Linked DNA regions of Homo sapiens: all the other regions are linked to region 1. The links are contacts of gene promoters, found by promoter capture Hi-C in blood cells and fetal thymus (Javierre and others, 2016). All regions are on one chromosome and are shown on one strand. The core of a region is centred on a gene start or on the middle of the fragment in contact, and the rest is flanking DNA. Distances in the headings are between cores, read along the strand shown. Region 1 holds the start of GRIK4 (glutamate ionotropic receptor kainate type subunit 4). Region 2 overlaps GRIK4 (glutamate ionotropic receptor kainate type subunit 4). Region 3 overlaps GRIK4 (glutamate ionotropic receptor kainate type subunit 4). Region 4 overlaps GRIK4 (glutamate ionotropic receptor kainate type subunit 4).

What was found. Contacts are between HindIII fragments. The CHiCAGO score rates a contact against its expected background, and 5 or more counts as called.
Region 2: a fragment that was not itself captured here is called in contact with the fragment with the promoter of GRIK4 in region 1 in 1 of 17 cell types (megakaryocytes); the score reaches 6.7 in megakaryocytes.
Region 3: a fragment that was not itself captured here is called in contact with the fragment with the promoter of GRIK4 in region 1 in 2 of 17 cell types (megakaryocytes and M2 macrophages); the score reaches 7.5 in megakaryocytes.
Region 4: a fragment that was not itself captured here is called in contact with the fragment with the promoter of GRIK4 in region 1 in 1 of 17 cell types (megakaryocytes); the score reaches 6.2 in megakaryocytes.

The regions. Positions count from the first base shown.
Region 1 is chr11:120,508,772-120,515,598 of GRCh38, reverse strand. It overlaps GRIK4 (glutamate ionotropic receptor kainate type subunit 4), which reads right to left and starts at 3,851. Exons shown (of 21, transcript NM_014619.5): 1 at 3,712-3,851. RefSeq lists silencers at 3,781-3,980, 4,161-4,240. The HindIII fragment of the contact is 5,980 bases long and covers 681-6,660 here.
Region 2 is chr11:120,712,920-120,719,746 of GRCh38, reverse strand. All of the region lies in intron 3 of GRIK4 (glutamate ionotropic receptor kainate type subunit 4), which reads right to left. Among named protein-coding and RNA genes, the nearest start is that of GRIK4, 200 kb to the right of the region's middle. The HindIII fragment of the contact is 7,357 bases long and covers 511-6,827 here.
Region 3 is chr11:120,655,876-120,662,702 of GRCh38, reverse strand. GRIK4 (glutamate ionotropic receptor kainate type subunit 4) reads right to left here. Exons shown (of 21, transcript NM_014619.5): 3 at 2,303-2,434. The coding sequence starts at 2,384. Among named protein-coding and RNA genes, the nearest start is that of GRIK4, 150 kb to the right of the region's middle. RefSeq lists an enhancer at 1,946-2,446. The HindIII fragment of the contact is 8,087 bases long and covers 1-6,479 here.
Region 4 is chr11:120,636,431-120,643,257 of GRCh38, reverse strand. The region is part of intron 1 of GRIK4 (glutamate ionotropic receptor kainate type subunit 4); the gene reads right to left. Among named protein-coding and RNA genes, the nearest start is that of GRIK4, 130 kb to the right of the region's middle. The HindIII fragment of the contact is 2,132 bases long and covers 1,857-3,988 here.

The sequences.
Region 1 (6,827 bases), core at 2,602-5,101:
TGGGTGGGGAGACAAACGGACAGACGATTACCAATACCAGGTAGGAGCAGGGGGCTCAGCCAGCCCATACAGAGGGAGAGCAGAAGGCGGCCACTCAGAGAATGTGCCCTCCATACCCATGCAGGTGCCCTTCACACTGGACGAGTCACACTCCCACTCACATTCCATGCTGCTAACCCTCTGAAGCAGGTGAGATTTATCCCCATTTTACAGGTGAGGCCAGTGAGGCTCAGAGTCCCCATTTTACAGGTGAGGGCAGTGAGGCTCAGAGAGGTGAGGCAACTTGTCCGAGGTCATGCAGGGAGTGATGTGAGGACAGGAACCCAGGTCTGCCTGATACTTGGTAGCTGGAACTGGTTCCTCTTCCAGCAGCACCTTGAAGGCTGGGCAATATATGGATGGGAGGAAAAGAGGAGGAAATGCAAAGGGCCAGGGTGAGGACACACAGTGCCAGGGCTGGGTGGCCAGGGGAGGGGGGACAAGATCATGCCAGACACCACGTTGTGACATAAAGTTGGGGTCAGCGTGCAGAGGGCCTTCACCTGCAAGGCATCTTGGAAGGCACTGCCACTGACGGCTGCTGAGACAGGGTCCCCTGTGAGAAGCGTTACCCTCTGTAAGAAGACAGGCACAGCGGCAGGATGGCTGGAAACTGAGGCTGGAGGCCCAACAAGGAAGCTTTCAGGACCGTAACTCAGGGTGAACAGCCAAAGGCCCAAGTAGGGACCACGGCAGTGGGAGAGCAAAGGTCGGAGTGGACACTCGAAGTGCCCAGAAGAACTGAGTGGGCTGAGGCCTAAGGCACCAGAGAGAGGGAAGGAGGGTGCCCCAGGCACCCCGGCTGCATGCCTGGGGGAACCCAGCCGTTCTTTCCACAAGGAGGAGGCAAGAGGCAGTGCCCACTTGGGGTAGGGGGTGGTTGGTTGGGTCTAGGGAGTGGCGGGACACCCAGGCAGCCAGTCTAAGGCTGAGGAGACTACAGAGCAAAGACTCCACCAGGCCTGGGGTGGGGGTGAAAACGGTGAGCCATCACTGGAGAGGGCGAAGGGGATGAACTGAGGAACAGGCAGGACCAAGGGTGGGCTTTCTGAGAACCAAACAGCTGAGACCTTAAAAAGCAACAGCAACGAGCCCAACAGCACTGGACTGAGCGTCCAGGGGCCTGGGACCCAGCTGTGGAGCCTTGGATGAGGCATCCAGCCTCTCTGAGCCTCAGTTTCTGTTGGGTCATGAATGCCTCCTTATAAGGCTGTCTGTAAGGAGCGATCAGATGCTTGCAGGGCTGTAGTAGAGATCAAATGAAGTAATTGTTCTGAGAGGCATCTGGAATGCTGCAGAACCCCATACACACATAAGGGATTAGTACTATGCAGAAGCACCAAGAGATGCATCCTTCCCACACACGCTTGGCGCTGCCCACCCTCGCCAGCCACACAAAGGCCAGCTTCCGCCTCGCTGCTTCTCTTGCCTTCTGAGCAGTCTCTCCCCCAACCCAGGGCCGGTCCCCCTGTCCTCCCTTCCATCTCTGGATGGCTGAGAACCACCTCAGAAGCAGCTGAGCTCCTCTCTCCTGGATGCCCTGACTCCCTGCAGCTGGGACTTTCTCCTAGAGTCTCTGCCTCTCTCCCGGTACTAAAGTTCCCTCTCCATCCTAAGGGAAAACCAAAGTGGAAATCAGACCACGAAGCCGACCCAGGCTCTCGGAAGAATTTTCATTGCTGGGGAAGACAGCAGCCACCGATCAAGATGCCCAGGTAGGGGGATGGGAAAAACACAGAAAACCAAGATCCCCTCTCAACCTCCCCTCCCGAGCATCCACCTCTTCCCCACCCGGAGGGACCAGTGCTGCCTCTGGGTTTCAGGTGGCAGGTCCAGAGGAGGACAGAGGGGTGGAGCTGGTGAGGCAGGCGGGAGGCTGGTGGGCAAGCCCGGGCCACAAGGAATGAACAAAATATGGAAAATTAAACAAACCCAGACACTGTAATGTGTGCATATTAGATTAACTCTCCGAAGGGTCGTGACCTTGAGGAACACATCTGGCCAGTGAGAAAAATAATAAACCTGATTAATGATGAAGCCTGAGCTGCAGCTTCAGCAAATAAAGCCAGCATGATGACGCCCAGTGGAATTCCAGGGGCTGCCATCCCTGGTGGGACCGGAACACAGTGGACCTCGACAAGCCCCTCGCCCCTGACCACGCGAGCACAGACAGTCAGGGAGTCAGGCAGGACCGGATTTGTCTCTCAGATGCCCACTACCAACCCAGGCGGCCTCTCTCCCCGGAGATACCACGCCCGCAGTTTCCCGGTGCTCCTAGAAGTGTCACTACCAACCAGGTGACCCATAGGGAGTGAAAGTGAAGGTAGTTCTTTGTTCCTGGCAGGGCTCAGTCCTCCTGACCAGCCCTCAGACCTCTTGGCCTGGTCTTGACAGCTGCCCACTGCCTGGCAAAAGGGCCCAGCTGTGCTCAGAGCTCCCCTCCTCTTCCCAGACAACCCAGACCCTTGGGAGACATGCCCAGGAGAGCCACTGGAGGGAGGCAGGGAGGTGGCACCGCGTGGCATCACCAGACAACAGCACCAAGAGGAAGATGGCAGCATCAAGTACAGATGCCAAGAGCCACGCAGCCCAAGGTCCAGCCCGGGAGTGGCTCGGCCCGCATTGCCCCACCACTGCCAGGCAGACGGGCCAGAGGCGCCCGGGGCCCAGCCCCCTCGGCCGCCTCCTCCACCACCCCAAGGCCCTCAGCCAACTCTCCCCAGGCTCCAACTCCTCCCCTCACTTTGCTCAGCTCAAGGGAGCCAGGGAAAGAGACACAGGTGCTCTCAGTGCCTTGAACCCCCTGTCCCAGCTGTCGCCTGCACGCCCTCCACCCCAGCCAGGTCGGAGCGCACAGCTCTGCCAGTCCTCACTGAAGAGAATCTAAATCAGCTCCCCTCCCCCTCCGCCCCAGCCCCCTCCCCCATCACGCGCCCATTGCAGGTCTCTAGAGTTTCTCCCTCACTTCCCACTCGGATGAACTAGGGTGGGATGGGTGGGAGCCCCATTCTCCCCGGGAAAGAGGATCATTTCTGATAGGACGCTGGTTCCCCCAAGCAAGGCGGTGTGCAGGGTGGGGGGGTGTGGTGGTGGCCCGAGTCCAGTGCAGGGGCAGGGGGCAGTCGAGGCAGATGGCAGTGAGGAAAGGGGGAGGGGGCTTGGTGGGATGCCAGGCTGAGCCGGGATGGGGGGCTGCAGCCGGGGAACAGAGGCGCTGGGAGAAGCGGAGGGTGACGAGGTGTAGGGGAGACGCGCCAGGCTGGGAAGGGGCTGTCATCCCTGCAGGGGACAGAGGCAGGGCTGGGAGTTGCACGGGGAGGGGGAGGACCAGAGCGGGAGGACCGCGAGCCCGGGGAAGGGATGCGGAGGGAGGGAGACGGACCGGGGTGAAGACTGGAGGAACTACGGGAGCAGAGCGGTGGGGGGTTCGGCGGCGAATCTGGAGACGCAGGGACCGAAGTGCCAGGGACCGGGCTGGCGGGAGGCGGGAGCGGGGAGGAGGGCGCGGGGGCGGGGGCCGGGGCAGGGGTGCGGGGCCGCGGCCCCCGAGGGCAGGAGCGGCGGAGACGTCAGAAGTCGGGGTGCGGGAAGGGCCAGCGCGGAGGGGACTCGGGGGCGCGGGGGCAGCGCAGGGAGCGGGCCGGGGGCGCCGCGGGGGGCCGCTGCCCTTACCTGGTCGGCTCCGCACTCCGGGGGCTGAGCCGGGGGCCGGGCGCTGCCGGGCCGGCCGCGGGGCTGCTGTTGGCCGTTTTTCCTCTTCCGCAGCAGCCGTGGCGGCTCCAGCCCGATCCGCCCGCAGCTGAAGGCAGTCTGTGTCCGGCTGCGAGCGAGCCCGGCGCGGGGAGCGCGGGAGGAGCGCAGCGAGGCGCGGGGCGCCGCCCGGCGGGCAGCTGGGGAACTGCTGCGGCCCCGCGCACGGCCGGCCGGGGGGGCGCCCCTTCGGGGCCGGGCCGGAGCCCCGCGGGCAGCTGCACGCGCCCCCCAGCGCCCCTCGGAGCGTCGCCCGGGAGCCCAGGCGCGGGGGCGGCGGGGGCGGCGGGAACGGCGGGGGCTGCTGCGGGCAGGGCGGGCGCGGGTCCGCGCGGCCGGGGGCAAACTTGCGGCTGCCCGGGGGCCCGGGGCCGAGCGAGAGGCGCCCGGCTGGGGAGCGGCGCCCGGCAGAGGCTAGGGGCGCGCGGCCAAGCGGGCTCTGCGAGGTACGGACCTCAGGTGGGGAACCCGGCGCAGCCCGCACACTCCACCGCCCTGCGCAAAGGGGCAGCCCGCCCCGGCCCCGAGGAGTTATTAGCCCGGCGGCTTCAGCGAGCAAGGGGCGCCCCCTGGTGGCATTCGGGAAACAGCGCGGGGGACGAGCGTGCCCCGTTAGAAGAGACTGCGGCCTCAGTGGTGCGGAAGATGGAGAGGTGGAGGTTTCATGGGACGAGACAAGAGCACCTTGTTCAGGAGACTGAAGAGCAACAGCTTGCATGGAGTCATTCCAGAGCACTGTTGTATACATACCAACATCTTGGGAGGATCTCATGTTACGCATGAAGATCCTGAGGCTAGGAGAGGTGAAGGGACCAGGCCAAGAACACACGGGGAGCAAGTGGCAGGACCCAGGAGGCAACCCCGCTTTCTGACGCGCGGTTCATTTCAGTACACCGTGTGGTTCATCCTAATACAACAGAGTTGCCCTTAGGAGGAGGCTGGGTGAAGAGGGAGTCCTGGGGGAATAGGAGGGAGGGCAAGGGACACGTGACCCCCTCAAACCTATTAGCTCCCTCTTATCCAACCCGCAGAGTCTCTGTCTTGGGCAGACCACCAAACTGATCACACCGGCCCTCTCACCTTCAATGGCCTGTATCCCCACACCCAACCACCAGCACTCCCACAATCTCATTAAGCTCTCTGTGAAGGGTTTGTTCACAGACGTCCTTGGTCAGGTCTCACGCATGAGGCATACTATCGGGACTATAGACTGTTCTGGACGTTGCATTCCCCGGGGAGGGCTGGCTGGCTAGCCTGGGCGCGTACTGGGCCTCCTGCTTCAGGAGTCGTGCCTATCCCTCCCCCAGCTCCACACACTGGCTGGATGAATGCCATATGCGAACAGGGCTCCATTCCTCCAGCCAGACATTATTTAGCACCTACTGTTTGCCAAGACTATACCGCTTACACAAGTGTGATTCCCAATAATCAACTTTGCAAGGTAGGTGTTGAGGTGACACTAGTCCCATTTTACAGAGGATGTTAAACCTGTTAAGGTTTAAGAGCACCTGTAAGCCAGTGACACAAAACTAATTTCTAATTCCAACTCTATTCCCCCACTCTGGAACCCCCTCTCTTGTGCAAAATGGACGGAACAGCAGCATAAGCCTAGCAGAAAGTGTACGGGGCTGGGAGGAGGGAGAGGCATCCCTGTGATCCCAGCAAGCGATTTCACTTCCCTGGACTTCAGTTCCCATAACTCTAAAAGTGAGGGAAGCAGACTAGATGATCTCTCAAGCCGCGCAAACTCTGAAATGCCAAGCATGGATCCCTGGCCCCTTTCACGGGAAGAATGCAAGATCAGCGAGACCAGAGAGGCTTATTAAGTGTTTGGAAAGAAAAATACTATATAAGTGAAATGCTTCATCATATTCTTTTGCCTGGTGATCTCATCCTATTAACCAGGGAAGCGGGGAGGAGCTTTTGGCAGGTCAGAGAGATTGCTGATGGCTCTGGAGATAGTCTTGGCTGTGGCCTCCTGAGGGCCCTGGTTTCTCCCCTTCTTGCAAGAATGGTTCTGACTTTCTTTTCCTTTCTTAAGGCCTCTGCCCCTAGAAGCAGGGAGTCCCTACCAGTCACAGGGTGGACAACAATGTCAGCGAAGTCTGCCGGTACAGAAGTCTGCTGTTAGCCTCAGCCTGGTTGCCCCCACCCACTCTCCTGTCTCCCCTTGCTGCAAGATGTTGAGTTCTTTGGGATACTTACTACTTGCTCTCCACCTTTTTTACTACTGAAAAAATTCAATTCCAGGCAAGCTGACTTCTCAAGCTCAGCTCCAGGGGTGGGAAGGTCAGTCCAGATCTTTTTTGGAAGCCACAGGGGGAGAATGTCAGAGGGCCACGAGGCTGGCCCCGCTGATCTACTCTGAGGCTGCTGCCTTGAATGAAAAAACAGAAGGGTTGGGAAATGGGGCTCCCACCTCTAGAACCTCTCATCTGAAACATCCCTCACAGCCAGCTGCTATGCTGTGCAGGACGGATAGGATTCATTGTGCTTGGGCGCCATGGTGGTCGGAGCGCACAGGAAGGAGTTTGTTCTCTTGGATTTATCTTTAATTTCTTCCATCTATCTGCCTCTGGTATATCCACTAAGAAGAATATTTGATCTTAAATGTACCTGCCATGTCTTTTCCGAAGGTCCCTTTGAAGGTTCATCACACATTCATAATGATCCCTCTGCATAAATGGGGCCAGCTGAGGCACACGGTGAGCAGGTGACTTGTTGTCACCTTGCTGAGTGGCACATATCATATCATGTCACCATGTCTTAGAAACTATTGCAGCGGCCCTCTAGCTCATCTCCCTGCCTTTAAATTGGCTCCCTCCAATATGTCTACAAATGGCTGCCAGAGTGATGTCTCTAAAACAAGCTTCACCACTTTACACCCTTGCTGAAAACCCCTTCATGACCTCATATTGAGTCCAAAACTTTTTTTTTTTTAAGACGGAGTCACTCCTCTGTCACCAGGCTGGAGTGGAGTACAGTGGCGGAATCTCGGCTCACTGCAACCTCTGCCTCCCGGGTTCAAGCGATTCTCC
Region 2 (6,827 bases), core at 2,940-5,439, 200 kb before region 1:
TATTGGGCAGGAGAGAAGCTTATGTAACTATTTCATTTCAGATTAAATACCTCTTTACAGTGGGAGAAAGAGTATGTATGAATGACTCTGGACTCCTGAGACCTGAAGGAAAGGGGGAAGGGTCAGGGGAAGGGAGTGACGATCTGTGGGAGCAGCTCACTAGGCCTCTAGGAGACTGACTCACAGGCTGTATCTCAGATCATCTTCAAAACAACTGGGAAGCTGGTATCATCAACAGTCTGACTTTACCAGAAGAGGAGCACTCAGAATCCAAGGGAAGGTAGCTGGCCCAAGGTCACACAGGCAGTGAGTATCAGAGCCGATTTGAATCTAGATCCGTCTCACTCTAAAACCTTCATATTCTACCAGGTTATCTCTGGAAGGAAGCCACCTGGTTAACCCCTCACACACACTGCCTTCAGTTCCCTGCCTCTACCCAGAGCAGATTATAGGAAATACCACTTTATGTGTGGCTGTAGAAGTTGCTACAGCCTATTATTTTTAAAAGCTTATTTTTAATGAAGGACTCACCCAAGCATGCATAAAATGCTATGAAATTATTGATGGTGTCTCTGCAGAAGAATGTGAGATCTCTGATTTGTTGGATTTCTTTAAAATCTTGTTTATTTAAAATTCAAAATATTCATTATACACTTTAAAAAAAACTCAATTATGCAACTTACCAAAATAAAGAGTAAATGTGTATCTAAAAAAAACCCGCAAAACCTGTTGTTTTACTTCTTTAAGCCTGATTCTATACCTTATTCTAGAAAGGGGAGGGCCACCTTCTTTCTTAGCAAACCATTCCTATGGTTAATAACTCTTGTTCTTAAAAACAGGGCTTAGCCAGTCCTGAAACCATTCTGATTGTAGTCAGCAAGGGACTGAACGGGCAAGTACGACGGGAAAGGGTTAAAGGTCCAAGCATCCCTGAGGTATGAACCCAGGCTAAGTCAAGGCAGGACCAAGGTTGGTACTGGCAGGTCCTGGGCACAGGCAACAGCGGCCAGGCTGGCCCTCCCAGGCGGCAGACCCACAGCCCTGGACATCCACCTGCCCACCTAAGGTGACTTGGATATGAAAGTGCCTTGCTCAGCTTCAGCGTACAGACAATGCTCAATACATGTTGGATTCTCCCTCCTTCCTTCCATCTCAAGGACAGGATTGGTCCCATGCCGGGGCAAGGCTGTACTTGCGGCTGGAGGTTAAGTGTCCCTGGCTTAGAACGCTAGAGAGGAGAGTGGCAGGGAACCACATTATTATCCAGCGACACCAATCTCTTGTCTAACCCAGCCTAAATCCACTTGCGGCTGCCTAAGCCTATCTCTTCTTGCTCTGTCCTCAGGGAAAATGGAAACTGGCAAGTATCCTCTCCTGAATATGGATGCCTCCATGACTCAGAGACGCTGGTCACATCACTCCTCAGGCTACCGGGAGTTGGAGCTTTTTCTGCTGTTTCCAGAAAGCCTGGGTAAAGACGGGGAGAGGAGGGAGTGGCTGGGAGGTCCCTGATGGACTTACAGACTTGAGGGGACATATTAGGAACTCCAGGGCTGAGTCCTGTCTTTGCTCTTGGTGAGGAGAGGGAGGAACACCCTGGAAGAGAGGGAAGATGGCAGGAGGGAGAAGTCAGGCTTCTCAGCACCCAAAGCAACAAGCAAATGGACTTATGATCCTTTCCTGGAATCAGGTGTTGTGTCTAGACAGACACTTAAGGGGAAAACCATGGCACTGACTTAATTCTTTTCGGAATCTTTTCAAGCCCTCTTGCCACAGACAGCCGCCTCAGCTTACAGACGCGGGCAGGGAGGTACAGGCTGGCCATTTCCTACCCCAGCCTTGCTGGGAGGTCTCCCCATCCCCCAGCTGCTCAGCCTCCAGGAGGCCTAAGCCCGTGGAGCCTCAGCTCCAGGGAGAGCACATTCCTGCCCACAAAGCCCAGAGCTGGAAGGGCACCCCAGGCTGGGCGGCTGGGCTTCCCTGATCAGAATCCCACACACCCCCAGCAGGCTTTCCCCACCCAAGCCCTCTCTTTCTTCATCCCATGTAGTCTCCTCTCCTCACCTTGGTGATGCAGGAAGCAGGAGGATTCTTATTTCCCCTCTTGTAAGTAAGGAAATGAGGACCAAAGAGGTCAACTGATACAGCCAACATCACAAATCAAGTTCTCCCATCGCTTTTTTTTTTTTAAACTTTTAGGACTCAGATTTCCTGGCCCTGCGGTGTCTTTCTATGCAGGCTGGGACATGTGTGTTGGCAGGATGGCAAAGGAGATAGTGGGCCCATCCTTCTCCAATCCCTAAGCACTGCCAGATCCTGGGCATGCTCATCCGCCTGTGAGCAGGTTCAAGGGACAGGAGAAGTAGGGAAGAAGCCCCAGGGGGCAGTAACATCTCACCTCGTGATACTGTAAACATTGCCAAAGGATGCCCCACAGCAGCTGCCCTTCTGAAAGCCTGTTCCTGCAGCGTTGCCCACCACCCAGGTGTGTGCAGTTGCTTCCTCTGTCCCAGCCATTAGCTACCTTGCAATGGCTGTGACCCCAGCCTGAGGCTCACACTAAGGTGACCAAAGGCAACCAGTTCCGCGATGAGCACAGGGCACCTGGCCTCCATTTACAGGCATTCCGTCGGCAGGAAAAATCTCCTGGCTGGACCCCAAACTGCCTGTCAGAGCGACGAGGAGCCACCGCCGCAGCATCCTTTCCCCTCTTGGGTATGAAGACATCCCCACAGCAAATATTTAAAGGATTTGGATCCTAGTCCCTAAGCACGCCCTCTCTAACCATCTGAGCTAAATTCTCAGTCCATGGCTGTGCAAATAGATTTTATTACCAGGGCCCTGAGCTGATAAATGGAGTTCAGGGACAATCATGCTGCAGAACCACCCTCTCCTGTGGATCCATCCTTAGCACTCTGATGAGCAGAGCGGTGGCAGCTGGAAAAGGCTGTCTCTCCTGGAAACTTCAGGGAGAGAAGAATTCCTTCTTCTCTCACTGCTGGAAGGATTCCTGTGCAGAGGGAATGTCAGGTCAGGGGTGCTGGGGGCCTGGGATTCCTCCTCATCTATTTATACTCAGTTTCTGCTTCCCCAGCCAGGCTGCCAACACTTAGAAGGCAGAGACTGCATCTTAGTTCTCTTTGCACCTTTTGTACCATAGCTCTGAGCCTGCACATAGCAGTCACTCAATTCACATAGAGCGTAGCCAGACGTAGTGGCTCACACCTCTAATCACAGCACTTTGTGAGGCCAAGGTGGGTGGATCACTTGAGGTCAGGAGTTTGAGACCAGCCTGGCCAATATGGTGAAACCTCATCTCTACTAAAAATACAAAAATTAGCTGGGCACAGTGGCAGGCGCCTGTAATCCCAGCTACTTGGGAGGCTGAGGGGGGAGGATTGCTTGAACCCAGGAGGTGAAAGTTGCAGGGAGCTGAGATCAGGCCACTGCACTTCAACCTGGGCAACAGAGTGAGACTCCATCCCGCCCACCCACCCCCCAAAAAAATCATGTCAGGTAGTGAATGAGCTTTATAACTACAGAAATCCAGGTCTGGACTTCTGCAAATCAAGCTCTGGTTCCTTCTTCTCAGCTCTGATAGAGTCACTCCCAGTTCAGAAGCCTTAGCCAGCTCACCATTGCCTACAGAACAGTGGAGGCTCCGTACCCTCCCTGCATTTAGGAGTGCTGACATCAGGCTCCAGCCTGCCTGTTAGCCGCCTTCCCCCACTGCCCACATGCCCAGTTCCTGAACTACACAGAAGCCCACTCTCTGCTCAGGATGAGCCTTTGCTTGGGTGACTTCCCCCACCTGGAATCCACTGTGCTTTCCACCAAGAAGGGGCTCAGGAAGAATATGTTTAATTCATTTAAATTAAATTAAGGCTGGAACCCAGAGGAGGCTGCGTCCTATTTTCTGCTTCAGTCTCCCCAGTTCTATCTCAAAAGTGGGAACATTTGCCGCCAGTACAGCAGCCCCACAAAAGGGAGCGGGTGTGGCGCCCACGTGGCCTGGTGTGAAATGAAGCTGCAAACACGGGACGTTTTCTTCCCAGAGGTTTGGGGCCACAGGAATTTGAGAATCCCCAAGCCTTTTGCAAATGTCGTTCTCCATACCTGACTGGGAAGGTGTTGGTGGGGAAAACGAATGTCTAGAAAAGGAAACATGGAGGGGAAAGAGGAGAGAGAGGGAGCGTTGGAATCAGACAAACAGGAAAGAAAAGGAAAGGAACATGGAGGGGTGGAACACACTTTAGGCCAGGGGTCCTTCATCTGCATTCACAGAACAACCTCTAGGGGGGTTCATGAGCTTCCAATTGCTTTTGTTTCGTTTTACTTTGTTTTTTTGTTTTTATGAGACACGACCCACCGCTTTCCGACAACGGATGCTCAAACAGGTCTGTGATTCCAAAAGGGCTTCCTTTTCCTGAATTAATTGCAGGGTCGACTTTCTTGCCTGCCCTCGTAGGTTGGGGCTCCTCGGGACTGTGCCCCAGGGCCCCTTCTCCCTCCCTTGATCACACATATCCTTGGCTTCAATTATTGCTCCACAGATAAGCCGAATCCCAGCACCTGGCCCAGGATAAGCATTAGTGCCCCCGTGCCAGCAGAGATACAGTGAATTCCTATTTCCAGCCTATACCTGTCTTTTGAGCTCCAGTCCCACGGATGAAGGTAGTTACCTACAGGGTGGACACCTCCAGTGCAAAGCCCAGAGGCAATTCAGAATCAGCAGGACCCACACCAAACACCTGCTTCCTCCCATGCATTTGCCACTCTGCAGCTAAAGGAGTCTCTCCAAAATAGAAATCTGATCATGTCCCTCCTTGCCTGTAACTCTCCAGTAGCTTTCCCTTATACTAGGCTAAAGCCGAACCCTCCTTAACAAGACTCCTAAGAGCCTTTATGATCTGACCGCTTCCTACCTCTCCAGGCTCATCTGTTCCCACCTCCCCCTCTCCCTACATTTCAAAAAGAATCATATTCTCTCTTGACTCAGGCCCTGAAAAAGCACTGTTCCATGTCCCCTTCATCTAGAGTAACATCTACCTTTTATTTAAACTCCAGTCTCAGCTTGAGTCATTTCCTCTAGGAAGCCATCCTTAACTCCCAGACCAGGTCACAGGGCCTTGCTATGGGACGCTGTAGTACTTCATACTTCCTCTATTAGGACACATTTGATACTTTTCAGTAAGTGCTTAATCTTCTGTGTCCTCTCCCTAACCTCCACGAGATTTAAGTTCCAAGAAGCAAAAAACCACTTCTCCCCATGTACCACTAGATTCATAGCACATGGCTCAGTGCCTGGCACACAGTAGGTGTTCAATAAATAACTGCTGAAAGAAAAAATAAATAGCGCGAGTGGATTAAGAAAGGGAAGGCAGGAAGGAAAAGGTTAGTCCTTTCCTTCTGAAAGCCCCTCATCTTTACTCTGGCTTGCAATAATCACACGCACTAGCACTTTCCTTTCTCCAAAACCCCAGAGCTGTGGATTGTAAGTCACAATGAGCCTCCAGACTGGGTGAATTCCCGACATTATTAAAGTCACCGCTATTGAAAGGCTGGGAGAGCATAGCATACACTTTTGCATCCACATGGTGTCTCAACACAGCTAAGTCCTCAGTCATAACAACAGCAACTATGGATAGCACCTTTAGACTTTAGTTTACAATGTGCTGTCATAGACATTATCTCTTAAATAATGATGGAAGAGGAATGAGTGATGAGCCAGGATGAAATCCTGTGAATAATGCTGGAGAAGCAGGTGCTCTATGGTAGGAAGAGCAGAGCACAAGACCTGATTCCAGCCCCAATTCTATTCATGACTCTCAATGGGACTTTGAGTCCGCAGCAAATCCACTCTCGACTCAATTTCCCCCTCTGTAAAATGGAGAATTGAGCCTTCCTTTCCCTATCTTCCAAAGCTGCTGTGAAGAGATAAAGCTAGCAAAGCAGTCACCTAAGTGAACAGAACTATGAATATTCATGTTGTACATCTCTTAGGGCAACCTTAGCAACTGCGACTCATCAAGTCCCTCGTAGCCACCTCTCTACCTCACCGAGTTTCCCAGTTCCAGCCCCACTTGTCTTTCCTCCTCCCTTAAAAAATCCTCTGTAGCCAGAGAAGATAAAAGAGACACAGCTACATCTATTACCTCCTACAAGCTACGGTCATAAATCCCATTGCAATTAAACCTCGCCTGGTAAAGAGCTCTAAGCACAAAACATGCTGGTGCTTTCTGCATTTGCCAATTACAACATGACAATGACTGAAGAGCCCAATGTCAGTGACGCAAGGGTGGCCCCCCTCTGTCTTCCTCCTGCTCTCTTTATGGAGTTTACCTGCCTGGGTTCGGGGGGCTTTTCAGGTGCCAGGAATGACAACCCACAGAGCATGCTGATAAAATCTGCAGAGGGCACAAAACTGGGAGGGGGTGTGCTTAGCATGTCAGGTGGCCGAATCCAAACAACCAATGAACAGCAGAATAGAACGCTGAGAGAAACCAATCCAGTGAAATCTTGGATTCAAGAAATACAGCAGACCTATAAACAGGGGGACACTTGACTTGGACAAGTTTATTAAAAGAGGAAAACATGAGCTTTGTTTTTTCATTTGTTTTTAGAACCACACGCTTGACATGAGCCAGCTGTGGCAAACTGCTGCTTATAAAAAAGTGCAACCTTGGGCTGTGTAAATAATAGCAGAGTGTCTCAAAGTTGGGCACTGCCTCTCTCATCCCCACTCCAGCCAGGCTCACGCAGGAAACTGTGACCAGTTATTGTCATTCCTTTCAAAAGGACAATAACAGACCAGCAAAAGAAGGGAT
Region 3 (6,827 bases), core at 1,187-3,686, 150 kb before region 1:
AAGGCGAGAGGAGCAGCAGCCCCTTCCCTTCCCATAAGCCTCTCAAGGACCCCAGAGACCCCAGCACAGTTAACGCCAGCCCAGCCCATCTGCATGCAAGGCTGCCTGCTGCTCAGCACAGCTACTTGTGTTTTCTTGACCCACTTCTCTTCCCATCCCTGCGCTACTCCACATCCCCTCTGGAGTCCATGTAATTAGCAACTTTCCATCCATAAGGATTGGGAGATTTTAAAAAGCTCCTGGCACTCAGGCTAACCAAGGAGACAGGAAGAACGGGTCCTGGCACTGCTGTTTGGGTTTTTCTTTTCTTCCCTTTCTGTTGGCTTAACTCTGCTTCCTGGCCTCTGCAGGAGATTAGGCCCGGTTTGACCTTGCCAGCCAGCAGGGCCCCTGGCTGGAAAGCGGCTGGAAGTGGCCTAGCATGAACCAAAACTGAGGGCCAGCAGTCTTGACAGAGCTGAACAAGCATTGTTCAGAGTATGGGTTTGGGAGCACGAGGGGTGCCTTTGAAGCCCTCTGTTGTGGCAGCCAAAAGAGGGACCTGTCAGCTCCGCTTTCTGCTTCCCTCCCAGAGCACAAGTGTCGGGAGAGGCGAGGCCATGAGGTGCTACTGATTCTGGCTCAATCCCTTTCCGCTTCCCATTAGCGACAAATGGAAATTGATGGGTTGCCACTTTATTCACTCATTTAGAGAGGGAGAAGACCTTGCAGCAAACGCTGAAAAACTATAGGCATCTTATAAATTAAACATCTTAAGGATATGAACCGTTTTGCATTGCTGCTAAGCAGAATTAAATTAGGTTTTGAAGTTTCTGTAAAAATGAACGGAGAAGAGGGAGGGAAAATTTTGTTTTTTAATTTCTTTTTTTTTAAGCATGCAGAGCAGTGTGTCGAGGGCAGGGTGAGGGGGAGAACTGGGTCACCTGTCCACATTTCTGATTCCAATCAGCTCCTCTGCATTTGCATGAAAAACTGTGCCCACAAGGTAAAACGAAGCAGCTCACAGACCTGCAGGCTGGGCTTCCGGCCTGTGACCCCTGGCCTAGCCAGGTTTTGGCTGCTCGCCCACCTCTGCCCACACCATGGCCTCCTGACCATCACCAGCACACCGACCTGAATGCAATTGGAGGAATTTGGGAGCTTTAAGTCAGCTCCCTGAGATTCAGCATCGTGCCATCTTTGCTCTAAGTCAGCCTCTAACCCTTTCAGGCTCAGGTTTAAGATCTAGATTCCTGCCTTTGCTCCCACCCCCAACCCCACCCCCAGTGTGGGAAGAGGGGCCTCATGTGGTTATCCGTTGGGGTAACCTGCCTGGTATTTGAGTTCCTCTAGGGCTGTCACTTAACTCTACCCTTGGGGCCCTGCTGTTGGATGGGTCGTCTTGTGGCCATCAACCTACCTTTCTGGGTTTGTCACTGCTGTGCCCCACCCACCTGTCCACACTAATCCCCATCCCCCGATGTACACATAGACACCCCTGATCCCCGACACCCCACATCTGTCCTAATTCCATGGGTTCTCTGTTGCTGGGCCATCAGATGACCACACTGCGCCTGCCGGACTGAACTGTGTCCTTGTCCCTGTGGCTGGCTGTGTCCCCAGGAACCAGGATCTAGAGAGCCTCAACCTGCAGTTGACAAGTCTTGTTCAGTCCCAGCAGGGAGGAGGCACCTGACTTCCCAGACCCGCCCCTCCAGGGATGGGATGCTGAGGGCTCAGGTGGAAGCCCGCCTGCCCACACCTAAAGTGGGCGTCCCACAGCAACAAGGCAAGGGAGAGACTCACATGACCCTGCCCTCCCTCTCAGAGCCAGGCCACAGCAAGCAGACCCAATGTCAAGGGCCCTTCCAAGCAGCCAGGCCACGCCAGCAGACTCCTGGCTTCTTCCAAGTTGTGGACATAGCACTCTCTCCAGGAAGCCTTCTTGGACTGATCACAGGAAAGAAGGGACCTCTTCTCCCATCTCCAGCCCTAGATTTGGAGTCCCCATGGCCATCCTCACCCTCCTTTTTCCCCGACAGCTGCCTCTTAACCTGCTAGGCTGAACCTACATTGACTGCACTAGGGAGTTATCAGCATCTTTATTCTAGTGGCCGGGGAGCTCAGCAGGTTGACCAGATCGGAGTGGTCACCTGTCAGCTGCCTCCACCACCACCACCTGCATGTTCACCCCAGCCACACTCAGGGAGGGCACAGTGCACGGGCTGGGCAGCTTCCCCAAGTCCTGTGCAGCACTCTCATGTCCCTTGTGGACACCTGGGATAGTGGGTGGGGGCACTGCCCCAAGCTGGGCCACACTTACCGATCCTCAAGGAGTGCGGGCTGCAGGCGACCATCACGAGCCACGCAGGAAGCAGCACCAAAGGCGCCGAGACGCGGGGCATCTTCTATGAATCCTCATGGAGCCCCCTGCTGGCCTGGGCATGACATAACTCTGCGAGAGAGGGGGTTGGGGGCACGTGAGTCCCAGGCTCCAGCTAGGCAGCTGCCCCACCATCCCAGTGACACCCAGGAGCCGGAGAGGCCCCTTTGTCTTTCCTCCTTACATGCCGGGCTCAAAGAAGGCTCAGGTTCTAACTTCAGCTCTGTGACCGACATGGGGCAGGTTGCTGTAACTGTGGTTGGATGATTCATGGCGTGTCATTAGAAATGAAGAACCTCATCTGCTCGCAGCCAGGCACAGTGGCTCACGCCTGTAATCCCAGCACTTTGGGAAGCCAAAGTGGGTGGATCACTTGAGGCCAGGAGTTTGAGACCAGCCTGGCCAACATGGCAAAACCCCGTCTCTACTAAAAATACAAAAATTAGGTGGGCATGGTGGCGCATGCCTGTAATTCCAGCTACTCGGGACCCTGTGTCACAGACTTGAACACAGGAGGCAGAGGTTGCAGTGAGCCGAGGTTGCGCTATTCGCCATTGCACTCCAGCCTGGACGACAGAGCGAGCCTTTGTCTCAAACAAACAAAACCCTCATCTGCCCTTAAGGAATTGGAGCCATGGGTGAGCAGAAGAGGAAGGGATGGGAGAGTTGGGAGGGTTACTCCATTTCCCCAAACGCAGCACAGGCACTGCACACTGAGGAGAGGTGTGAGAGGAAACTGGGTTCAGGCCAGCTCTTCCACTTGCCAGTTGTGTGGCCTTCACAAGGTCCCCTCTGTGTCTCGGCTCAGTGTCCTCACATGTAAAAGTACTATAACAACCCCTCCTGGTGGAGTTGAACTAAAGAAGAATCAAGGTAACATCGGAGAAGCCACCATGCTCAGGGTCTGGCCTAAATGAGGTGCTACATAAATGTCAGGTCCTCCCTGGCCCAGATGGGAGCGGTCCATTCCTAGCAAATATGGAGAGCAGACACACACCTCCCAGGTTATCAGCTGCTTTCCACATCTGCTCTACTACCGCTGAAAACCAGCCCCACCCCCAACCTCTACCAATCCCTCTCCTCCTTCCTGAGGTGGGTGGGCCTCTGATGTCAAATCCAGAACCTTGCAGGGAGCTGCCTCTCCCCAAGGCAGCACGTGCCTTGGCCCCCACTGAGACCCAGATTCTGCCGACAGCCAGCTCTGCTGGCTTCACTGGGGTGAGGGTGCGGCTGATGAGCACCTGGATATGCTAATCCCAGGTGCCTGGATTGGGAGAGTAGTATTAAAATGTTTAATTTTAATACAGACTCACGCCTGTAATCCCAGCACTTTGGGAGGCCAAGGCAGGTGGATCACGAAGTCAGAAGATCAAGACCATCCTGGCTAACAGGGTGAAACCCCATCTCTACTAAAAATACAAAAAATTAGCCAGGTGTGGTGGCAGGCGCCTATAGTCCCAGCTGCTCGGGAGGCTGAGGCAGGAGAATGGCGTGAACCGGGGAGGTGGAGCTTGCAGTGAGCCGAGATCGTGCCACTGCACTGCAGCCTGGGGGACAGAGCGAGACTCCGTCTCAAAAAAAAAAAAAAAAAAAAAAAAAAAAAAAAAAAAAAAGTTTCGTCCTCCAACCCCTAGACAGACAATCCAATAGGAAAATGGGCAAAGGCTTGAACAGACACTTTACTAAAGAAGATATCCAAATGGCTTACAAACATCTGAAAAGGTGTTCAGCCTCATTAAGCATCAGGAAAATGAAATTTTAAACTACTGTACACTCACTATAATGATTTTAAAAAAAGACAACATTAAGTGTTAGCAAGGATGTGGACAAATTGGAACTCTTATGCAGTGGTAGTAGGTGTGTAAACTGAAATAAGTACTTTGGAAAACTGGTATACTAGAGCTTTACATCTAGCCTAATGACCCACTAACTCTATTCCTAGGTATTTATCAAGCAGAAATGCATGTATATGATTAGCAAAGACATGCACTAGAATGTCTATAGCAGCACTCTGGTGGTTTCGTTTCCCCAAACTGGAAACCACCCAAATGTCCAGCAGCACGATGGAGAAATACATTATATATGCACACAGTGGAATGTTATACAGAAATGAAAATGAATAATCGACAACCACATGCAACAGCAAGGATGAATCTCATAAATATAAGATTTAGCAAAAAAAAAGACTGGTACAAAAGATTACACATTCTAGAGACAGAATAATTCTGTCTATATAAAGTGTAAAAAGATTACAAAAGATTACACATTCTAGAGACAGAATAATTCTGTCTATATAAAGTGTAAAAATAGACCAAACCACTCTGTGCTGTTGGAAGTCCAGTTTCATGGTTAGGGTAGAGAATGGCAGGGGACACGAGGGGACTCCCCAGTGCTGGTGATGTTCTCTGGTTTTCACGCTGAGTGTTGCTTGCAGAGGTGTGTTCACTTTGTGAAAGATCACTGAGCTGTAAACTTATGGGGTGTGCACTTTTCCTTATGTGTGTTATGCCTCAGAAAAAAATCTTGTTCAGGGACACTCCGCCTCCCCCAACACACTCAACATTTCATCCACACGCAGAGCCTTGTCACTTCCTGTGCACAGGGCATCCCTTCTGCCCAAAGAACACCCCTCTGCTCACCCCTGCCATGGCCAGAATGGGGCCTCTCTCTGTGAGCCATCAGCACCCAGGCATGGCTCTGAGAGCAGCACTTTTCCTGCCTCTGCTGTTGCCTTTATGCGTCTAGGCCTGGGATCAGTATGTGCTCCTTAAGGGCAAGGACTGTGTCCAGGTTCCTGTTGCATCCCCAGGGTCTATTTATACATAATAGGTGCACAGCACATATTTGTTCAATGAATGGAAGGCCTCAAGCAATCACCTGCTAGAGGAAGACAGAGGAAGATAAAGAGTAAAGGATGGGGGTGAAGGCAACTCCGCTGTTGGCAAATCAGGCCCAGAATCTTTGTTCTTTAATTCATGGGTGTTGGTGCAGGGATAGATTAAAGCAAACACAGTCTTAGGAGAAGCTAGACATTCTTACTTATTATGGATAAAGTTGATTATTCAGTGATTTTCTGTCTCCCTACTAGAATTTAAGCTCAATAGAGGTGGGGCAAGGACAGGAATCTTGTTTGGACTATATCCCCAGGGCCTAGAACAGTGCCTGGTATATTATACGGCCTTAATAAATATTTGTTGAGTGGATAAATATTTGTTGAGTGGAACAAGGAGAAAAAAACTGTAATAATCCAGTTAGGCTATATAAAAGTACTACTAAATACAATCACTTACCTCAAATGCCTTCCATTTATGCCTGATCAGCATGCTGCACCATAATTATTAAGCAGACTGCTAAATAGGTGTCAGATTACCCTGTGTAAATTTTATTTGATGACAGAACTACACGCAGTTCGTGCAGGCCTGAGGAACTGAGTGAAGCTGCTCATGGCCCCAAAGACTGGTGGATCCTGGAGACTACATTTATTTTTGAGACAGAGTCTTGCTCTGTCGCTCAGGCTGGAGTGCAGTGGCGCGATCTTGGCTCACTGCAACCTCCACCTCCCAGGTTCAAACAATTCTCCTGCCTCAGCCTCCCAGGTAGCTGGGATTACAGATGCCCACCACCAAGCCTGGCTAATTTTTTAGTGGAGATGGGACTTCACCATGATGACCAGGCTGGTCTCGAACTCCTGACCTCAGGTGATCCACCCGCCTCGGCCTCCCAAAGTGCTGGGATTACAGGCGTGAGCCACTGCACCCAGCCGAGACTACATTTAAGCATGACAGTGGCTCAGGTCCTGGGCTGCTCTTGGGCCTCAGCTCTGTGACCCCCTAGACACAGTGATGAGAAATAATTTCCTCTTAAATCTTACAAGAATGAAAAGAGCCACCATGTTGCATGTCTGTAAGGCTCAGTGGCTTGCAAAAATCTTTGCACAGTCTTTATCATAGTTAAACCGCAGAACAAGCTCTATTACAGATGAGGAAGCTGTGCCCAAGAAAAGATACATGACTAGCTGAAGGTCGCATAACTGTCTGGAGGTAGAGCCAAGGCTAACCAGGTCTCTCACTCCACTAGCTTTTCTATCTTAACTGCTACAGAGCAGAAAGATGAAGCTTTCAGATTCTTCACCAAAAAACACAAAGACATTTGGGGTCTTCTTTTCAGCTTAACATTCAGATAAATCTAGTCTTAGGACCTAATAATGCATCCTTTATTAACAGAAAATATTTTAATAATTCAGGGGCGAAAAAAGAACTTATCCTGAAGTTAGAGCACCAGGTTGCTCTTTCCACGACCATTACCCTCCATGGGGGGTTTCTCCCCTGCCCATGGTATATTCTCCTCCACCTGCATGCTGTGGCATTGACATCTACAGCTCAAGCCCAGACTTATGACCGCACATCTGCCTGGTGACATCTCTACCTGGGGATCCCACAGCATGCCACAAACACCTTGTCCTAAA
Region 4 (6,827 bases), core at 1,673-4,172, 130 kb before region 1:
TACCCTGCTTTATTTTTTTCTTTTTTCCATAGCACTTATCCCCTTGTAGCTTGTTATATAATTTACTTATTATATTTCTTATTTATATGAGTTTCCCCTCTATACGCTTGCTAAAGAGTAGCGAGCTCCTAGAGAGCAGGGATTTTGTTTGCTTTGTTCTTTATGGGTCCTAAACACCTAGAACAATGCCTGCCATACATAGTGGGTGCTCAGTAAATGTGTTGAATGAGTATGGGAAACATGTGAGCAGTCACGGTGTTAAGATTAAACACTCCCAGTGCAAGTGGAGGCTGGGTGTATTCTGGGAGGGGGCCATGGCAGCCAGGCATCTCCTGTTTCTACTGGGGGAAGTGCAGCCTCAGGAGCACGTAGATTTAATGCCTCCCTATTGAATGTTATAATAATTCAGAGACAGAGGCAGCATGAGAAGCTTCCTATTTGCAATGTTCTGACAGCAAACAGATGAGGTGAGGAGGAGGACGGCAGAGAATTTCAAGGAGTTCTCATCCTGGACGCAAGGAGAACCCAAGGCCGCTGCTGGCCGTGGCTGAGCCCCGCTGAAGGCAGGATGCCAGGCTCTGCTTCCCAGCACATCCTGAAGGGACAGGAGTGCCAAGGAGAGGGAGAAGATGGGGCCTCACAGCCTGGAAAGTCAAGAGAGATGAGAAGAGTGAAGCCTTGGTTCAGAAGATGGGTCCCAGGACCTCACATCCGGAAGGGAGCTTGGGGACCACCTAGCATAGATTCCTTACTTCACAGATACAAAAAAAAAAAAAAAATGCCCAGAGAGGGAAAATGACTTAACCAAGGTCCAGAGTTTGTCCCAGAACAGGTTCTAATACCCGCATCTCCCAGCTGCTCCGTCAATGTTCTTTTCGTGATAGTACTGGCTCAGTGACCTGTTTTGTTTTGTTTTTTCCCTTACAGATGGAGGTCTTACTCCATCTTGCCCAGGGTGGAGGGCAGTGGCATGATCATGGCTCACTGCAGCCTGGACCTCCTGGGCTCAAGCCATCCTCCCACCTCAGCCTCCTGAGTAGCTAGGACCACAGACACACACCACCACACCTGGCTAATAACTTTTTTAAAAACTGTCTTCCATAACTCAGCACTGTATTCCGTACTGGGGACATAGCTGTGTGCAAGACAGATAATGTGTGTTGGGAAAAACACACAGGTAGCCATCAAATCCCAATACAAAGTGGACAGTGTGATCACAGAGGATGTTTCCTGGTTGCCATGGGAACACCGGAACAGAGCACCCAAACCAGGCTTGGGAAGCGGGGGTGGTCAGAGAAGACTCCTCAGAAGAAAGAACATTTGAGACCCAAACAATGTTGGAATCAGCCAAAGCGTCAGAAGTGTTTGAAACAGAGCAACTGCATCTTGAATAGGAGCTGGGTAAAATGAGGCTGAGACCTACTGGGCTGCATTCCCAGGAAGTTAGGCATTCTAAGTCACAGAATGAGATAGGAGGTCAACACAAGATACAGATCACAAAGACCTTGCTGATAAAACAGGGTGTGTGGTAAACGAGCTGGCCAAAACTCACCAAAACCAAGACAGCAACAAAAGTGAAGTCTGGTCATCCTCACTGCTCATTATATGCCTATTATAATGCATTAGCATGTTAAAAGACACTCCCATCAGCGCCATGACAGTTTACAAATGCCATGGCAACATCAGGAAGTTACCCTATATGGTCTAAAAAGGGGAGGAACCCTCAGTTCTGGGAATTGCCCACCCCTTTCCCAGAAAACTCATGAATAATCCACCCCTTGCTTAGCATATAATCAAGAAACAACTATAAATATACTCAGCCATGTGGGCTGCATTGCCTATGGAGTAGCCAAGCTTTATTCCTTTAGTTGTTTTTTTTTTTTTAACTTTTACAGTTCAATTTACTATATAGAAATCACTTGGGTTTTACATTTTCAGTTAACTTTTGAACTGAGATTACAATATTATAACAAAAAAATCTTTATACTAATTCAGGACTTTTTAGCATACCAAATTGAAATACACAGATTCAAATTTCAGATTCATGGCAAACAGTCTTCAAATACAATACAGACACTTCTTAAAGTAGCCATATCATTCACATGTGATATTTGCAACTCTGAGATGTTTCACATAGAACAGCTCTCCTGCAGATATGGCAAAGTGGCTATGCCACGAAGTTCAAAGCCTGTAGAGTCAAGCCAAGGACAAAGTTGCACCATCGTTAAAAAGGTTTAGCATTTCTGGGCCGGGCGCGGTGGCTCACGCCTGTAATCCCAGCACTTTGGGAGGCCAAGGTGGGCAGATTGCCTGAGGTCAGGAGTTCAAGATCGGTCTGGCAAACATGGTGAAACCCTATCTCCACTAAAAATACAAAAAAACTTAGCTGGGCATGGTGGCATGTGCCTGAAATCCCAGCTACTCAGGAGGCTGAGGCAGGGGAACTGCTGGAACCAGGGAGATGGAGGTTGCAGTGAGCTGAGATCGCGCCACAGCACTCCAGCCTGAATGACAGAGCGAGACTGTGTCTCAAAAAGAAAAAAAAAAAAAGGTTTATCATTTCTGGACCACAACAATGCACAACATGTAAAGAAGGCAGGAAACAGTTCTCCCTCCTTGTTATGGTTAAAAGAAAGTTACATGGCAGCTTGGAATTTTGCATAAAACCCCATATTATACCTTGAAAAAGTCCAAGGGCAATTTGATGGTGATGGATTGGGGTCTTATTTTTTTTTAAATTAATAGAACCCATGAAATTCAAATGGGCATTAATTAATTAAAAAATATTAAGCACCTACTGGTTTAAGAGATTTAAATTTATTGGAGATTCATAATCAATTTCTTTCCACCTTGAAATCAAGGTATAAAAACCAGCTATTAAGTACATTCCAAACTTCTATGTGGCACAGGTAGAATTTTCTGTCCATTGACACCAAAGTGAAGTCACATTTCCTCTTGGGAGACAGAAATTCCACACCTGAACATAGAGTAAGTTGGGAAAAAATGACCCCTGTTACTACTATTGTGATTCTGAGATCTAGGATTACTAATATACTGACAGTAAACAAAGCAAATTCCTGGCAACAACTGTTGTTCCTTTACTTTCTTAATAAACTTGCTTTCACGCTACTCTATGGACTTGCCCCAAGTTCTTTCTTGCATGAGGTCCAAGAACCCTCTCTTGGGGTCCGGATCAAGACCCCTTTCTGGCAACAAATGGGAAGCAGAGGGATGGGAGGAGGATGAGCCCATAACTGGAGGGGACAGGAGACAGGGATCTTTCCTGATCCAAAGGCAATGAGGGGTGCTGCCCTGGGGGAATAGGATCCGGGTCAAAGATGGCTCCACAGCAGCCATGCTAGGAAGTCTAGATTGTATTCTAGGGGTACCAAAGAGCCACTGAGATTTTTACATAAAGGGATGACATAACCAGAATTTCTTATGGAAAGGTCACTCTGACTGCAATTTGAAAAGAGTTTTAGAGGGTTTAGGTCTGGAGTCTGGGACATCCATTGGGTGGGCACTGAAGAGGTCCTGGAGACAGATAGACATGAGGAAGGTAGAAGTGGCAGAGGAAGAGACGTTTGCATTTGCGAGCTTTTTAGGAGGTAGAATTGACAGGACCTGGGGATCAGATGTGGGTCGTGGAGGAATGCAAAGCAAGGATGCCTTCCAGGCTTCCAGACTAAGCACCTGCCTAGAGGATGGAGTCACTTACTGAGACAGGGGCCGACCCCAAGAGGAGAGACTGCGAGACAGGGGAATGACTTCCCCAGGAGATTAGAGGAAGGAAAAGGCAGGGAGCAAGGGATAGTGAGCCCAAGGTGCCAAGAGCACCTGTGCTGTGTGTGTAGCGAGATGAAGAGCACAAAAGCAGGCCCCGGGGATTCTCCCATCCAGAGCTCAGATGGTTCCAGGATAAGCTCCAAGTTCACCTTTCCACCTCTGTCCATTGCGCCCCTGATGCAGCTGAATCTTAGGGCAAGCTTGTGCTTTGTAGGCTTTGACCACTGGCCAGACACTGACCTCTGCTTTTATTTTTATTTTTTATTTTTTATTTTTTGAGATGGAGTTTCACTCTTGTTGCCCAGGCTGGAGTGCAATGGCGTGATCTCAGCTCACTGCAACCTCCGCTTCATGGTTCAGGCAATTCTCCTGCCTCCACTCCTGAGTGGGCGATTACAGGCGCCCACCACCATGTCCAGCTAATTTTTTGTATTTTTAGTACAGAAGGGGTTTCGCCATGCTGGACAGGCTGGTTTCGAACTCCTGACCTCAGGTGATCAGCCCGCCTTGGCCTCCCAAAGTGCTGGGATTACAGGCATGATCAGGCGTGGGATTATTGCTCCAGGCCTGACCCCTGCTCTTGTAAGGTCAAGGGCCACCTTGGATAGAAATGATATTAGGGCACAGAAAAAATAGTTCTAATCCCTGAAAAAGGCAGGCCCTTGCTCACCGTGCCGCTTTAGAAGATATCACTGGGCCAGGCGCGGTGGCTCACGCCTGTAATCCCAGCACTTTGGGAGGCCGAGACGGGCGGATCACGAGGTCAGGAGATTGAGACCATCCTGGCTAACATGGTGAAACCCTGTCTCCACTAAAAATACAAAAAATTAGCCGGGCATGGTGGCAGGTGCCTGTAGTCCCAGCTGCTTGAGAGGCTGAGGCAGGAGAATGGCGTGAACCCAGGAGGCGGAGCTTGCAGTGAGCCGAGATCATGCCACTGCACTCCAGCCTGGGTGACACGAGACTCCGTCTCAGAAAAAAAAAAAAAGCAAAAGAAGAAGAAATCATTGAGAGGTAGCAGAGCATGAGGATAAACATCATGGACTCTGAAGACAAATTCTAGCTCCACCACCAACTAGCTGTGTGATCCCATGCAGGTTACTTAACCTCTCTGTGCCTTGTTTCCTACATTTGGAAAATGGGGATACTAATTCATTTCTCCAAAGGGGTAGTAACTCTACCTCTCTGTAGAGTGTTAAGAGTTTTAAGTGGGTCAGTATTTGTCAAAGAGCTTAGAAGAGTGCCTGGCACATAGTAAGTGCTATATAATTGTTAAATTAATAATAAAACATGACCAGGTATAGTGGCTCATGCCTGTAATCCTAGCACTTTGGGAGGCCAACACAGGCTGAACACCTGAGGTCAGGAGTTCGAGACCAGCCTGGCCAATGTGGCGAAATCCCATCTCTACTAAAAATACAAAAATTAGCTAGGTGTGGTGGTGGGTGCCTGTAATCCCAGGCACTCAGGAGGCTGAGACAGGAGAATCACTTGAACCTGGGAGGCGGAGGTTTTAGTGAGCCGAGATCACGCCATTGCACTCCAGCCTGGATGACAGAGCGAGACTCCCTCTCAATAATAATAATAATAATAAACATATGCATAAGCTGAGGGCTTAGATGCCATCACTCTAGGAACAAGATAAGTCAGGGTGGGAGAGGTATGGTTCTGTAGGCAAAGGGGCCCAGGAGAAAGAAGGGGCATTCTGCAGTGTCGGCTTTAAGCACCCTGGCACACCCCACTACGGAAAAAACCTGGGCAGAGACAAATGAACATTTAAACCAGCTTCAGCTTCAGATCGCCGCAAGAAATAATTATTCTGGGTATGAATCTTCTCTAAGAAGTAATATTTACTTTGGAAACACAGCAACTGCACCCCACATGGCTCGCTGTTGCTGGAATCTGAGCAGCCTCCACTTTACTAGGGGAAGCAGTCCTGCTTTACGTATCCAGGCGCTCTGTAAAGCACTGAAATTTACAGCACATTTGTTATGCAGCTCAGCAAAAGGTGTATGAAGAAAGAATAACCTGTTCCATCAGCACTGCTCAGCCGGAGAGACCAGAAAGCCACTCACTCTGCCTGTGAAGGGGATTTGCCAAGTGCCAGGGGGGAAAAAAAACAAGCCTGTCCCACCAGGGCACCCTGACATTGGATTTCAACAGGCTCATGTTCCTGCTTCCACTGTGTCGCTTGCTGGTACAAACAATACAACTCCAACATGAGGACACCTGCTTCCCTCAAGAACACCCGCTCCCTGCCTGTCTGACTTTCTCCCCACCCCCACCTGGCGTCTGGAAAAATATGTGTTCATGGTTCTCTCTCTCTCTCCCTCTCACCTCCTTCCCTCCTCTTCTCTTTCTTCCTGCATCTTCTCTTCTATTCTTCACGACTCTTCCCTCCTGCTGGCCATCAAATGCCTACGTCTGGGGAGGCCCATGGCATTGAGGTCCTCAGAGACCCGAAGCAGGCAGAAGCTGGTTTTGCACCAGCTTATCACTGGGGGGCACCCTGGGAAACTCATAGACACCTCTGACCATGGCCATGGCCTCCAGCCCATTCTCAGGGACATCAGGACCCAGGTGGAGGCCAGAGCCCAGAGAGTAGAACTCTTCCTTCCTTTCTTTTTTTTTTGAGACGGAGTCTCACTCTGTCTCCCAGGCTGGAGTGCAATGGCACGATCTTGGCTCACTGCAAACTCCACCTCCCAGGCCCAGGTGATTCTCCTGCCTCAGCCTCCCAAGTAGCTGGGATTACAGGCGCACGCCACCACACCCGGCTAATTTTTGTATTTTTAGTGGAGACAGGGTTTCACCATGTTGGCCAGGATGGTCTCGACCTCCTGATCTCATGATCCACCGGCCTGAGCCTCCCAAAGTGCTGGGATTACAGGTGTGAGCCACCGTGCCTGGCCAAGAGTAGCAGTCTTTCTAGGGAAGAATCCGAACTGATCCCCAAGACTCCCAACACAGTCTCCCCACACTGCTCTTCTTAGATATCAAGAGAAGCCCTGGGCAAAACTGTGACATAAAATTTGTTCCTT